5 separate regions of the Homo sapiens genome follow, and all the other regions are linked to region 5. Evidence: promoter capture Hi-C in human tissues and cell types (Jung and others, 2019). All regions are on one chromosome and are shown on one strand. Each heading gives the region's core, a stretch centred on a gene start or on the middle of the fragment in contact. The rest is flanking DNA. Distances are from core to core; before and after follow the strand shown.

The links. The method cuts DNA at HindIII sites, captures the fragments that hold promoters and counts their contacts. A contact is called where the count stands out against the background at its distance.
Region 1: a fragment that was not itself captured here is called in contact with the fragment with the promoter of FBXO3 in region 5 in 1 of the 25 tissues and cell types used here (heart right ventricle).
Region 2: a contact is called between a fragment that was not itself captured here and the fragment with the promoter of FBXO3 in region 5, in 1 of the 25 tissues and cell types used here (dorsolateral prefrontal cortex).
Region 3: a fragment that was not itself captured here is called in contact with the fragment with the promoter of FBXO3 in region 5 in 1 of the 25 tissues and cell types used here (heart left ventricle).
Region 4: a fragment that was not itself captured here is called in contact with the fragment with the promoter of FBXO3 in region 5 in 1 of the 25 tissues and cell types used here (IMR-90 fibroblasts).

Annotation. Positions count from the first base shown.
Region 1 is chr11:33,367,915-33,370,623 of GRCh38, forward strand. No RefSeq gene overlaps it. Among named protein-coding and RNA genes, the nearest start is that of KIAA1549L, 6.8 kb to the right of the region's middle. The HindIII fragment of the contact is 3,548 bases long and covers 1-2,709 here.
Region 2 is chr11:34,060,228-34,062,927 of GRCh38, forward strand. All of the region lies in intron 2 of CAPRIN1 (cell cycle associated protein 1), which reads left to right. It overlaps LOC124902660 (a long non-coding RNA gene), which reads left to right and starts at 251. Exons shown (of 2, transcript XR_007062651.1): 1 at 251-964. The HindIII fragment of the contact is 3,578 bases long and covers 1-2,700 here.
Region 3 is chr11:33,406,314-33,409,013 of GRCh38, forward strand. All of the region lies in intron 1 of KIAA1549L (KIAA1549 like), which reads left to right. Among named protein-coding and RNA genes, the nearest start is that of KIAA1549L, 32 kb to the left of the region's middle. The HindIII fragment of the contact is 6,349 bases long and covers 1-2,700 here.
Region 4 is chr11:33,424,735-33,427,434 of GRCh38, forward strand. The region is part of intron 1 of KIAA1549L (KIAA1549 like); the gene reads left to right. Among named protein-coding and RNA genes, the nearest start is that of KIAA1549L, 50 kb to the left of the region's middle. The HindIII fragment of the contact is 4,649 bases long and covers 1-2,700 here.
Region 5 is chr11:33,773,012-33,775,813 of GRCh38, forward strand. It overlaps FBXO3 (F-box protein 3), which reads right to left and starts at 1,509. Exons shown (of 11, transcript NM_012175.4): 1 at 1,383-1,509. The coding sequence starts at 1,486. It overlaps FBXO3-DT (FBXO3 divergent transcript), which reads left to right and starts at 1,688. Exons shown (of 3, transcript NR_120550.1): 1 at 1,688-1,740; 2 at 2,243-2,352; 3 at 2,437-2,659. RefSeq lists an enhancer at 523-1,023 and silencers at 972-1,041, 1,502-1,601. The HindIII fragment of the contact is 9,520 bases long and covers 1-2,802 here.

The DNA of each region.
Region 1 (2,709 bases), core at 185-2,684, 410 kb before region 5:
TGTGCCTGGCCACATATACTTTAAATAACCTCCAGATTACTTATAATACTAATACAATGTAAGCACTATGCAAAAAGTTGTTATACCATATTGTTTTTTATTTCCACGTTTTTATTGCTGTATTGCTATTTTTTTATAGTTTTTCTCTGAGTATTTTCCACCTGAGGTTGGTTGAATCTGTGGATGCAGAACCACGGATACAGAGGCCGTGCCTAGTCATCTCCAGGGAAGTGAAGAGTAGAAATGAAGCTGTTTTTTGTTTTTTCATTTTTCGTTTCTTGTAAAAACACAGGAATAGCTTTTCAACAACTACCAAAGCTTAGGGATTTGATTTTTTAAAAATTCACTCACTGACGTTAGGTATAAGCCCTATACCGAATGGCCCAATATCTTGTTACTCAAAGAGTTGTCTCCGATCAGCCTCGGCATCACTTGACAGTTTGTTAGAAATGCAGACTCTGGGGCTGGGTGCCATGGCTCACGCTTGTAATCCCAGCACTTTCAGAGGCTGAGGCGGGTGGATCACCTGAGGTCAGGAGTTTGAGACCAGCCTGACCAACATGGTGAAAACCCTTCTCTACTAAAAAATACAAAAATTAGTCAGGCATGGTTGTGAATGCCTGTAATCCCAGCTACTTAGGAGGCTGAGGCAAGAGAATCGCTTGAACCTGGGAGGCGGAGGTTGCAGGGAGCTGAGATCACGCCACTGTACTCCAGCCTGGGCAACAGAGCAAGACTCCCTCTTAAATAAATAAATAAATAAATAAATAAATAAATGCAGACTCCTGGGTGACCCCAGACGTTCTTTTTAGCCTCTCTCTCTCTCTTTTTTTTTTTTTTGTATATTTTTGTGTTTTTTTGTATTTTTTACTACTTATTTTTGTTTTTCTTTTTGTATTTCAATTTTTTTTACTACTTTTTTTTCACTTCAAAATTTTTTAAAAATAGATTTCTTTATTTTCTGGAATTTTTCTAGCCATGGTAACCCCAGGCCTTTTTAATCAGAATCTTCATTTTAGCAACATCCCCATGTAACTTATGTGTACATTCGAGTTTGTGAAACTTGGGCCTAATGGACAGCTTTACCTGGATGCTCCTTTTAGCACTTGTTTTTTTCCCCCAAGCCTAATTTTCCTGTATCTATATTTCCTGTATTCCCAGATACCTATCTTCCTTCCTACTTTCCTTCCTTCTCCCCTACCTCCCCTCCCTTTCCTTCCCCTCCCCTTCTCCCTTCCCTTCTCCCTTCCCTTCCCTTCCCTTCTCTTCCCTTTCCCTCCTCCTCTTCCTCTTTCTCCTGGTATCATTGGTTACTCCCTGTCAAATCCTTCAACACTGTTCCTGTCTCCTTACCATCCTCATTGTGCTGCCTCAGTTCAGACCTGGAACTTATCCAAACTAATACTTTTATCTGACTTCCTGGCTTTGAGTCCACCCCCACTCCTCCAACCTTCCTCATTACTTTCCAGGTGGTCTTTTTAAAATTCAATTTTGACCAAGACAGTAGCAGTGGAGGTGCCAAGGAGATGCTTGGAGCAATAGAAGGGGCAAGTAAACATAACCTAAGTGAAAGCAGAGCTCTTCTTATCAAATTCAGCTTCAAGACGAGTCCTGGACCAGTTTCCTCAAAGCTTCTCATGAAAATTCTGAAGTTGCCTTTGGATGCCAGCCTGCTTTCAAATTTTCACTGTCACTGTCAAGATGATGTCCAATCTCTTGGAGGACTTTTCGGAGGACTTTTCTTTTCTTTACTTTTTTAGAGACAGGGTCTTGCTGTATTGCCCAGGCTGGGCTTGAACTCCTGGCTTCAACTAATCCCACCTGGGCCTCCCAGTGCTGGAATTCCAGGCTCGAGCCACTGTGCCTGGCTTTAGGAGGACATTAAATTCTCTATGACCACAATCTAATTTTAAAACATTTCTATTACCCTAAAAAGAAACTTTGTGCCCATTACAGTCACTTTTTGTTTTTACTCACCAGCCCCAGGTAAGCACTAATCTACTTTCTCTTTGGTTTGCCTTTTCTGGACACTTCATACAAACGGAGTCATAGAATATTGTGACCTTTTGTGACTGGCTTCTTTCATTTCGCATAGTATTTTCAATTCATCAGTGTTGTAGCATGTATCAGTACTTTCTTCCTTTTTATCGATGAACAGTATTTGGTTGTCCCACATTCTATTTATCTTTTCACCAGTTCATGAGTTCTTCCCACTTTTTGGCTATTGTGAATAATGCTGCTCCATATATTTGTGTAAAAGCATTGTGTGAACATACGCTTTTATTTGTTTTGAGTAGATACATGTATCTTGATATCTTGGGTAGATATCTCTAGTTTCTGAAAGGGATAGTGTGGTAGCGTTTTAAAGTTTTCTCAAGGTTACTAGTTATTAGGTGATGGAGTTAGGACTTCAACTCAGGTTGTAAATCATTGAGATTTTCAATGACCAATCCTGGTTTCCACCCCACAGAGCCCAAGAAATAGTCTCAACACAGTGAGACAAGAAATTGAGGGCAAAGAGAGACAGTAAAAATGAGCTAGCCCCATACTGTCAAATGCTAGACCAGATCTCTGCTCTGCTATTGGATGAATCCCAAAAGCAACAGAAGTATTAGTGAGAGACAGATTGACCTTTGATCGTTAAAAAACAAACAAAAGACCCTGCCTCCTCCCACTGGAGGATTTATTTATTTATTTATTTGAGACGGA
Region 2 (2,700 bases), core at 133-2,632, 290 kb after region 5:
CATTAGCAAGATATGTGAATGGTCTTAAGAGAACACAGATAATTCTTATTATTAGAACCATTGTACATTATTGGAAATTTCATTGCATTCTCCTCAATACTGTTCTAAAAATATTTTAATTTTAATTTTTTAGAGACAGGGTCTCACTATCACCCAGGCTGGAGTTCAGCAGGGCAATCATAGCTCATTCCAACCTTGAACTCTTAGCCTTAAGCGATCCTCTTGTCTCAGCCTCCCAAAGTGTTGGGATTACAGGGTTGACCCACTGTGCCTGGCCCCCCTCAATACTGTTATCTAAACATAGAAATAACTGAAATATATTTTAGTCATTAAAAAACCCTTTGGGCTTACACTTTGAGTTACATTGAACTTCTTTTTACATTGTGGACAGGAAAGATAGTAAGCAAAAGTTTCCTCAATTTTTAAAAGGACGACGGTAGAAAGAACACATTGCAATCTATAGATGATCCATGGCAGCTATCTTCAAATGCTGAAAGCTTGCTCATGTAGCAGGAGTCTGTGCTGTTTTAGAAAACGAAAAAGTATTAAAACAGTGATGGTGGGGATGTAATTTTTTTACATTTAACTCCCAAGGAATGTATTAATATAAATAAGTTGTACAGAATTATGCTAAGGAATAGCTTGGTTAAAGCAACTAATATTTTGAAAGATGCCCTTTAAGATTATTTATGGTAATTTGCTTTTCAAATCTAGAAGCTTTAGACTTTTTAAGAATATAGTTCAAAGTAGGTGATGCTGGAACTTGTTAACATTTCTTTTTCCTACTAGAGTCAGCTGCTTCAATTCACTCAGACTTACCTGCATAATTATAACCTTGGACAAGGAATAAAGGTTTTTACAGGATTGGCTTTTATCTTTTTTAAAAAATTGGACAAACGGCTTGTGAAACTAAACTCCTGGATACTTAACCTGCTTGAAAAATTATCTTACAATGGAACCTTAGGTAACATCCTTTTTTTTTTTTTTTTTTTTTTTGAGATGGAGTTTTGCTTTTGTTGCCCAGGCTGGAGTACAATGGCGCAATCTCAGCTCACTGCAACCTCTGCCTCCCAGGTTCAAGTGATTCTCCTGCCTAAGCCTCCCAAGTAGCTGGTATTATAGGCAACCACCACCGCACCCGGCTAATTTTCTGTATTTTTAGTAGAGACCAGGTTTCATCATGTTGCCCAGGCTGGTCTCAAACTCCTGACCTCAGGAGATTCGTCCACTTTGGCCTCCCAAAGTGTTGAGATTACAGGCATGAGCCACTGCACCTGGCCTAGGTTAGCATTCTTATGCCATTCTTAGCGTTCAGAAATCCAGCATTCCTGACAGGTGTTCATTCAGCCTCTGCTTTAACCAGTCTTCCAGGGCCTGGTAGAGTGCTCGTTTCTCAATGAAAATTTGTTTCATTGGTGTGCCACTCTTTAAGTTCTTGGTGGTAGAAGTATATCCTTACCGGCCGGGCACAATGGCTCATGCCTGTAATCCTAACACTTTTGGGAGGCTGAGGCGGGCAGATCACCTGATGTCAGGAGTTGGAGATCAGCCTGGCCAACATGGTGAAACCCCGTCTCTACTAAAAATACAAAAATTAGCCGTGCGTAGTGGCTTATGCCTGTAATCCCAGTTACCTGGGAGTCTGAGGCAGGAGAATCGCTGGAACCTGGGAGGCAGAGGCTGCATGAGCCAAGATCGCACCACTACACTCCAGCATGGGTGACACAGCGAGAGTCTGTCTCAAAAAAAAAAAAAAAAAAGTATATCCTTACCACCACTGTTTAATAGTCTTTGTTTTCTGGAACAGCATAGACTCCCGCTACATGAGCATGCTTTCAACATTTGAAGAAAGCTGCCATGGATCAGCTATGGATTGTAGTGTATGTTCTTTCTACCCTGCTTTTAAAAATTGAGGAAACTTTTGCTTACTATCTTTTTTGTCTTCTGGGGATTTCACTAGCTAACAATACTCAGTTGAATTTGTGGAGGGCAAATAGGAGACAGTCAGCTGCCTACCATTGTGGGCAAAGTCAAAACTCGTAATTGTCTAAGTGAAGAACAGAGAATGTGGGGATTGGGGACTTGAAATAATACCTGGAAAAACTGGTAAAGATTGGACCGGGCGCGGTGGCTCACGCCTGTAATCCCAGCACTTTGGGAGGCCGAGGCGGGCGGATCACGAGGTCAGGAGATCAAGACCATCTTGGCTAACACAGTGAAACCCCGTCTCTACTAAAAATAAAAAAAATTAGCCGGGCGTGGTGGTGGGCGCCTGTAGTCCCAGCTACTCGGGAGGCTGAGGCAGGAGAATGGCGTGAACCTAGGAGGCAGAGCTTGCAGTGAGCTGAGATCACGCCACTGCACTCCAGCCTGGGCGACAGAGCAAAACTCCGTCTCAAAAAAAAAAAAAAAAAAGGAAAACTGCTAAAGATTATGGAAAGTTGAGAGGAAAAGAAATATTTTGTTTTTGCAAAAGTTGGTACAGTACTCTAGAAGTGATTTATTTGGCCTGGATACATAAAGTATAGCTAGGTGCTCTTAACTACTTTGGTTATTTTAGGCTTCATTTTTAAGTATTCCCTCTCAGTTTAGACATCTCCTTATTTGAGAATAGGAGTTACGAAGTTTTCCTGGAAAGCCAAGTTAGTTTTTTTCAGATGTTTCCTCCTAATCTTCCTTCTGACTATTTAAAATTGTCTA
Region 3 (2,700 bases), core at 52-2,551, 370 kb before region 5:
CTGGCTTGCAGGATGGCTGGGTGGGGAGGGGGTTCCTGCCGGCTGCGACTTATGCTTCACACGTGCACGGGCCATATGGCAACACCAGTGTGCATGTGCAGGGGAGGGGCCGCTGCCTTGACCCCGGGCTTTCCATTGGGTGCCTCTGTTTTCAAATCATCTTTGGTCCGAATCCTATCATCTCCTCTCTTAGGGACAGGTGGATGTAGATGGGGAAGCTGGAACTCAAACTACCCCCTTTGCTTATGTTGTGTTGTAATCCGCGCAGCGGAGCAAAGCTCCCCAGAGTTGGCAGCCCCTGAAATTCAGGGCAGGTCTGACATTTGCTCTCCACTCTGCCCTGCACTCTTCTTTCTTAAGGCCCCCTAGCCCTCCGCTGCCTCAAAGGGATCAGCGCTCACTGCATCTTTCTTCACGAATCTAATTGTAAAGGATCAGGCACCTACCAGGATGCAGTTATACTTTGCTGCTGCTTCGTATTCTTCATTTTTGGGGTAACAGTTTTGTTAACCTTTGCTTTCGCACACCCAGGTGTCGGATGAGGTCTTTTGGCCCCTTAAGACCTACTTAGATTGGCTCCAGCCCTCCTGTTGCCTGCTGCTGGAGGTGTAATGTTCACGATTCCTGTAAATTCCTCAGGCACTTATGTTCTAGTTTCTGTCTTTGAGCTCTTGCTTCACTGAACTAGCTCAAGGTAGGGACTCTTTGTTCCTGTTCTTCATAGGTCTATCTAGGTAGATGTGGAGTTCAGTCCTTTTTCTTTTTTCATTTTTTTTTTTTTTTTTTTTTGAGACGGAGTCTCGCTCTGTCGTCCAGGCTGGAGTGCAGTGGCGTGATCTCGGCTCACTACAAACTCCGCCTCCCGGGTTCACGCCATTCTCCTGCCTCAGCCTCCCGAGTAGCTGGGACTACAGGCGCCTGCCACCACGCCCGGCTAATTTTTTGTATTTTTAGTAGAGACGGCGTTTCACCGTGTTAGCCAGGATGGTCTCTATCTCCTGACCTCGTGATCCGCCCGCCTCGGCAGTCCTTTTTCTTTTTCTTTTTTGAGACAGTCTCACTCTGTCGCTTAGGCTGGAGTGCGGTGGCATGATCTTGGCTCACTGCAACCTCTGCCTCCCGGGTTCAAGTGATTCTCCTGCCTCAGTCTGCAAGCCTGCGAGTAGCTGGGATTACAGGCACGCGCCACCGTGCCTTGCTAATTTTTGTATTTTCAGTAGAGACGGGGTTTCACCGTGTTGGCCAGGCTGGTTTCAAACTTGTGACCTCAAGTGATCTGCCCGCTTTGGCCTCCCAAATTGCTGGGATTATAGGCCTGAGCCACCGTGCCCTGCCCTAATCCTTTTAATTCCTTCAAACCACCCACCTGAACTCACCATTCACAAGTACAGAGAAGACTCTAATGAGGGTTGGGGAATCCTAAGGGTTTGCCTTGCAGTGAAGCAGATGGCTTTACAAGGGAAACCCTGCCTCCTTGTTCTGAAAAGTTCCTGGCCAATTCTAAAAACTTTAAATCCCCCAGCCTTCTGCGCCCGTCTATCCATTTTCTCTCTTCCCTTTCATCCTCAACCCCCACATTCCTCATGAGTTCTCACTCAGAGTTCTTGAGCTTTCTTTAGTCAACTTCCTACTGGGAATGACCCGTTCCTGCAGGGTCTCACCTTCCAAGCCCAAGAAGCTCATCAAGTTGTTTTTTTTTCCCACCTTGTAAACAAGACAGTTTCCTTCTCAAGGGGTGTTAAGATAATAAAAATTTTACCTTGTTGTTTAATTATCCGCTTTCTGGAGGAAAAAACCTCAATCAATTCTACTCTTCTGAAATAAGGAACAAATATTGTGTACAAAACAGAAAGATTGGAAAATGTCTTTTGTAGTACCTTCTTTTCTAAAACATGTAAAACTGAGCTAATACATTCTGGAGCTAGGCAGGTAGCTAACTGGTGCTCTGGGCATCAGTCGGGAATAGAGAACTAAATTCTGAGTTGGGAGTGTTGCTGGGCAGGGGACTTCGTCACATAGCATCTGCGTGATCTTGGTTTTGGGCCTATCATGTGGTGTTTCCCCATCAGCAAAATTGGATTCAGTGATATCTAATATCTAATATCTTCCAAGTCTAATATTTTATATGGCGCTCTCCATAAGTTAGAGATATATATATACATACTCTGTATATGTGTATATATATATATATATATATACACATGTATATATGTATACAGAAATTTTAGATCTTCCCAAACCTTTAGGAAAGCTTCCTACACACAGATGCCTCATGTGAGCAAGTTTTTTTGGCACCTCTCTGTCCCAGTCCCACATGTCCAAAGTGATATAGACTTTCCTTGGTTAGGGAGTTGGTTGTCTCATTTCTGACATCATCTTTAAGATTAAGTGTTCTACGGATCACATGAGGCCCGGAGTCTGAGACCAGCCTGGCCAACATGGTGAAACCCCATCACTACTAAAAATACAAAAAAAAAAAAAAAAAAATTAGCCGGACATAGTGGCGCATGCCTGTAATCCCAGCTACTCGGGAGGGCGAGGCAGGTGAATCACTTGAATCCAGGAGGCAAAGGCTGCAGTGAGCCAAGATTTTGCCACTGCACTCCGGCCTGGGTGACAGAGCGCGACTCCATCTCAAAAAAAAAAAAAAAAAAAAAATTAGGTATCCTTAAACTGCACTTGAAAAAAAGTCAGCAACTG
Region 4 (2,700 bases), core at 145-2,644, 350 kb before region 5:
AATAAACCAGGAGAATGATGATCTTTGTTCAAGTTTTAAATACAGAGTATTGAAATATACTCCTCTCCAAGTATCATCACAGATGCAGCCTGCTTCTGTAGAATCCTGATGGCTGTGGACTCTGTGTGGTGAGGAGGTGAAGAATGAGGTTGGGAGAGGTGCTGCCTTTCTGGCCTCTGTACAGAGGGCATGAGGAAAGCTAAACTCCTCCAGTCAAGAGACCATGGGTCTCCAGTATCTCCAAATGCCCAGCACTTAGAATAGAAAGTTGGCAGGGAGTCAGTGCTAGTTAAATGAATGAACAAATAAAACCTTGATTTTGATTCCCTTTCTAGATACCAAACTTTGATCTCTTTATGTCTTATTTTATTCATTTGTAGGGTGGAGATGTTAATATGTGCTCTAATTCCATCTCAAGGAGCTTTTCAGAGCCTAAGATGAGTTAATTGATTTGAAGATTTGTATATACGTTAGTATCTAGAGCAGAAGAGAACTTACCTTGTGTTTCTTACAGCTCTTCTTCTTGGTCCTCAAGTCCTATTTTAAAATTTTGTCAATTAGAGGACTCTTGGTTCTCTTGGTTGACTCATTCTCTGCTGATTTGTTCTCTGTACTTGCAGCAAATAAAGTGCAGTCATTGAGAATGTTCCTGTGTCACTGTGATGTATCAAGGGATCTTCATGTTAATATCTGTTTCTCTGACAACTGTGTTTTATACTTTGTACTGTAGCTTTCATTGGAGAAGCCCTGGGCTCATAAGAGTGATTTGTTGTGGCATTTCCTTATGGAACATAAGCTTTGAAATATACTTGAGATAAATATTCATGGGAGACATCCAAATGCAGTAATGAGAGTACAATGAAGACAGCATTTGGACTTGGAAAACCTGAGTTCAAGTCCTCTCACTTGCTGTACGTAGATGAAAACATCTGCTTATTTCCGCTATTATTAGGAAAGGCTGGAATTCTATTTCACTTTGCATCACACGTCATATGGATGGAGAAACCCAGCAAACACTACTTTAGCCAAATAAAGTAATCAAAGATAACATCACCAGTAATGAGATGTGTCAACATGTTCTCCTTATTTTGATGCACAGAGCAAAAGGCAAAACATCACTTCTTTGGGATTTTTACTGAAAATGCACAAGTTCAGTCTAAGCACGAGAAAACACCAGACAAACCCAAATTAAGGGCAGTTCTACAAAATACCTGACTAGTCAGTCCTCTTCACAGATGGCAAGGTCATGAAAGACAAAGAAAGACTGAGGAACTGTCACAGATTGGTGGAGGCTAAGGAGACTTGAGAACTAAATGCAATGTGGGACCCTGGATTGGATTCTGCATCAGAAAAAGGACATTAGAGACAAAGTTAGCAACATTCAAATAAGGTCTAGAGTAGTTAATATAAATTTATCAGTGTTATATTCTTGGTTTTGGTAATTGTATTATGGTTATGTAGGATATTAACAGTAGAGGAAGCCAAGTGAAGCGTATTGAACTCTCTGCACTCTCTGCTTTGGTAATTTTCTATGAGTCTGAAGTTTTTTCAGAAGTTAAAAACATGATACTGGGACACATGAAAGCTTTGTGAAATATCCTGTTTTATGGGAAGTAGAGGGGGTTTCATTTCTTGCATATGAATTTAGGAGCTAGAAAGACCAATTTTCTGAAGCTAAAGGAGTCAAACTGTATCTTGACTGATGGAGTTCCTGACCATAAATTGAGAGCAAGGAGGGTTAACTCTTTGAGATCCCCAGAGGCCCTCCTGGTGCACAGGTGGTTGAGTACCTGGAGGTGATAGTATTTTGGCTGTATCATCTTTCACCTGGTCACCTGGGCAGAGCTGTGGGGCTATAATGATGATTACCCTTAGATTGAAAGTTTGTTATGTGCTAGAATCTGGGTACCAACTGCTTGTCACCATTAATCTTAATAATATTTTTGAAAAGCAGGTAGGTGATAGTTCCCTTATTTTAGGATACATCTCAGAGAGATTCATTTGCCCAAGAGCACTTGGATGGAGTGGAAATCTGACTGCAAGCTCAGGTTCTGACAGCTGTGCTGATCTTTTCTCCTTTGCCCTTGGTGGGTGCTCCCCTGAGGGCCTCCAGATCTGGCCCCTCCATTATCATTTATATCTGTGCTTGATAGAAAATTAGGAATCAGTGTTTTCCTACCCCCTATTATCTGTTTAAGCATAGACTAGCATTTTATGTAGGCTCTTTGGGGCTATTAATTGGTTTCTGTGGTCAAATGTGTTTTGGGGAAACTTAGGGATAAATATTAAATTCAGTAGCTCTCCACCTTTACCCAGGCAACTAAATGGGCGGTAGAAAACCACACGACCAGGCTCATTAGTCTCATCAGTTTATACCATGAACCTCAAGTGGGCCTTTGGTGCTGCCCAGCAATGCCACTCTATTTCCCTAGCACAGTCATCTGCCCATTCTCTAGGGTGACTGCTTCATACCTTCTCTTCCTCACAAAATCTCCCCATCTCCCAAGAAAAAACAGGTAGAAGAGGATTTCCACAAGCCCTTACCACTGCCTTAACCTGGCTGCCTGAATCCTGCCTTCTCTCCCTTTGAGGATGAACCATCTCTGATCCCTTTGTGGGAGACAATATCCCCTCTCAGGCTGTCGGGGTCCTCCTGCCAGCAGTTCCCCCTGCTCAGTATGCTCCTCTCCCATCATAGAT
Region 5 (2,802 bases), core at 259-2,758:
GTGCAAGTGTGTTGTATGCTGGCAGAGGTCTGATTTGGTTAGAATGGATGGTGCAAATGTGATAGTGGTGGAGAAATAAGTCCTGGAGGACCTTAGATATACAAGCCAGATGATAAGAGCTTTCAATGCCCCAGAAGTTTAGGTTATAGTCTATAAACATAGGGGTGTCACAGGTTTTAAGGAGAATGACAACCAGATGTGTCTTGGAAAGATTACTCTGGCAGCAATCAAAAGTTGGAGACTGTTAGTTAAATTGTAAGTATTTTCTAGAAAAATAAAATTGCTAGCAGGTACAGGTAGCGACCAGTACAGGTAGTGACCAAAAACTTGAGGTATCTCTCTATCACCACTTAGCTAGGCCAACAACTATCTGTAGCTCCAAGAAATCTGTATTTATAAAAAGACCTCTAATAACACAGGGCACAATCATCAAATGGCTAGAATCTAATGGTTAATCCAAACACAAAACAAATCTCGCCCACCTATCCTAAGAGGGCGACTTTGCATCCTCTGCAAATATATACGGTAGCACAGGAAACTCACAGCCATGCCACCCCCTGTCAAGGGTGTAAACAATCCTGACAGCTGGGGGGCGGGCTGGCAGCGCCATTTCTTCCACCACCCCAGACAGTCCCAAGTTCTGAAGAAACTGGGCATTGAACCACCCTTATCAGCAACCGGTGTTTATTTCTGGAACAGATGCTAGTAATGTGGGAAACCCAAGGTGTCCAGGAGAAAAGATAGTCACCGGTATGGCATCACCGGAAGTCAGTACCAAAACATAAAATCCAACATCGAACCGTAAGGAGCAATGCTGACAGCAAAACAATTCTCACGCACTGAAGTCCGAAAGTGAGCCCGGACAGCGATTCTGGCGCTGGGGAAGTCGCGCCAGGGGAGTAAGGGGTTGCCTATCTTCTCCTCTCGCTCACCCACCTGCCCACCCCGGCGCCAGACTCCGCAGGCCCCGGACCCAGCAGAGAAGAGCGCCTGGCCGGGACAGGGGCTTTTACACAGCAGCAGGGACTGACCCCAACCGGGCGGGCACCTGCGGGGCCAGCGGGGGTCCGCGGAGCGCGGCGGTGCGGCACGAGGGCCACTACCTCCTTCTCTTGCAAGTGGGCCTCACCGAGGCCTGGGAGAGAGATATCTCGTCGCTTCTCATACCTGGGCCCAGGACAGGAGGAAGACTCAGGGCGAGGCCCTTTCCGCCCCCGTCTCGCCCCGGTCCCCGGTGGCTCCGCAGGATGAGGGCGGCCCTGGCGTCACCTTCTGGTGTCGCGGAAGCTCGGGTCCTGTCAGCGGCCCCGACCCCCTTTCCCCCTGCCTCACCGCCTCCTCTCCCCATGCCCCCACCCCTGCCATGCGTGTCGTCCCATTACTTGATTAGATCCCGATAGTCCAAAAAGGATAAGATGAGGAGCAGGGGATCGGTGGGCAGCGACTCTAGGGTCAGCGGCGCCGTCTCGGTCTCCATGGCCGCCATCTTGCCTGGCCCGGTGCAGGTCTGGCCCCGCCCTGGCCCCGCCCCTGCCCCGCCCCCACCAGCGCCCGAACCGCCCCCAGCCGCTCTCACAGGTTTGTTATGTAACCGCCGGGCCAGCCCCGCCCTCAGGGTGGGCTGAGGTGCGGCTCCCTGGAGACCCCGCCCGCTAGCCGGGAGCCAGCGGCGCAGTGCGAGTTCAGCCCGCTTTCTTCGCGCTCCGCGTCAAATCTCTCCAGCTCTGTTCTCGCATCCCGGTTCGTAAACTTGCCCAGCCCGGGACCCTTTTGTTGCCAAATCTGCCTCGGTCTGCCCAACTCCTCCTGCGAAATTTTACACTCAGTATGCAGGAAGCCTCGCTCAAAATCTGACACTCCTCCACGCCCTTGGTCCCCAAATCCATTCCTTCTCTTTGTTTTCCAACCCGAGAACCCCTCGTTTTCCCCGCTCAGCCTTCCCCACCCCGCTTGTCCCCCGCACACAGCAGGGCCGCTCCGAGACTTGTCCACTCAGCAAGAGCAGAGCTGAGAATCAGCCAGGGACGCCAGCTGAAGGCCCTTCTCCCAAATTAAGGAAATAATTGTTGAGGGCTTAACTTCACGCCCCTCCCCGCCTTCCTAAGTAAAATGTGTACAAGGAGTGAGTCTGAGTCTCAGCCGCTGTCCCTTAATTTGGTTATCATGGCTATTTTCAGCCTATTAGGGCAATGCAAAGGGTACAGTGTGGATTTTTTCCAGCTTTAAAATTTATTTTGGCCAGGGTTTAGATCCCGCAGAGTTAAGTATCCCGCGTGTGAAGGGATGAACTGAGACTCCCAGAGGGCATAACTGATGGAGGCACGAAGATGTCTGCTCTTCAGCTTTGCCAAGGTGATATTAAAATGAGAGTGGGGGAAGTATAATGGGTCCATACATCACTTGCCTGATTTCTTCTTTTCCATTGCTTTTCCAAAGGTAGTATGGTGTAAGGGGCTTTGGGGAATCCAGACAGACCTGGACTTCACACGCCCGTCATTTATTTCACTACTAGTGAAATGCTGGCGTAGTTACGCCTAAGTTCTCTGAGACTGTCCCTCATCTCTAAAACCACCCCTCCTCTGGTGAACTAAGGATGGCGATAACGCTTTATGTAAAGTGCCTGGCCAGATACTCAATAAATGTTAATTTTCCAAGCTTATACATGCATCAGTCACTAAGTTCTCCAAACATTTCCATATCCTGGAGAAAGTTTCTCTCAATTATTTGGAAGAGTGGAAGTGATATGCCCCGCCCCAAAAAAATCCATTTCCTCCATTCTTCATACCATTAATGCCTTCTATT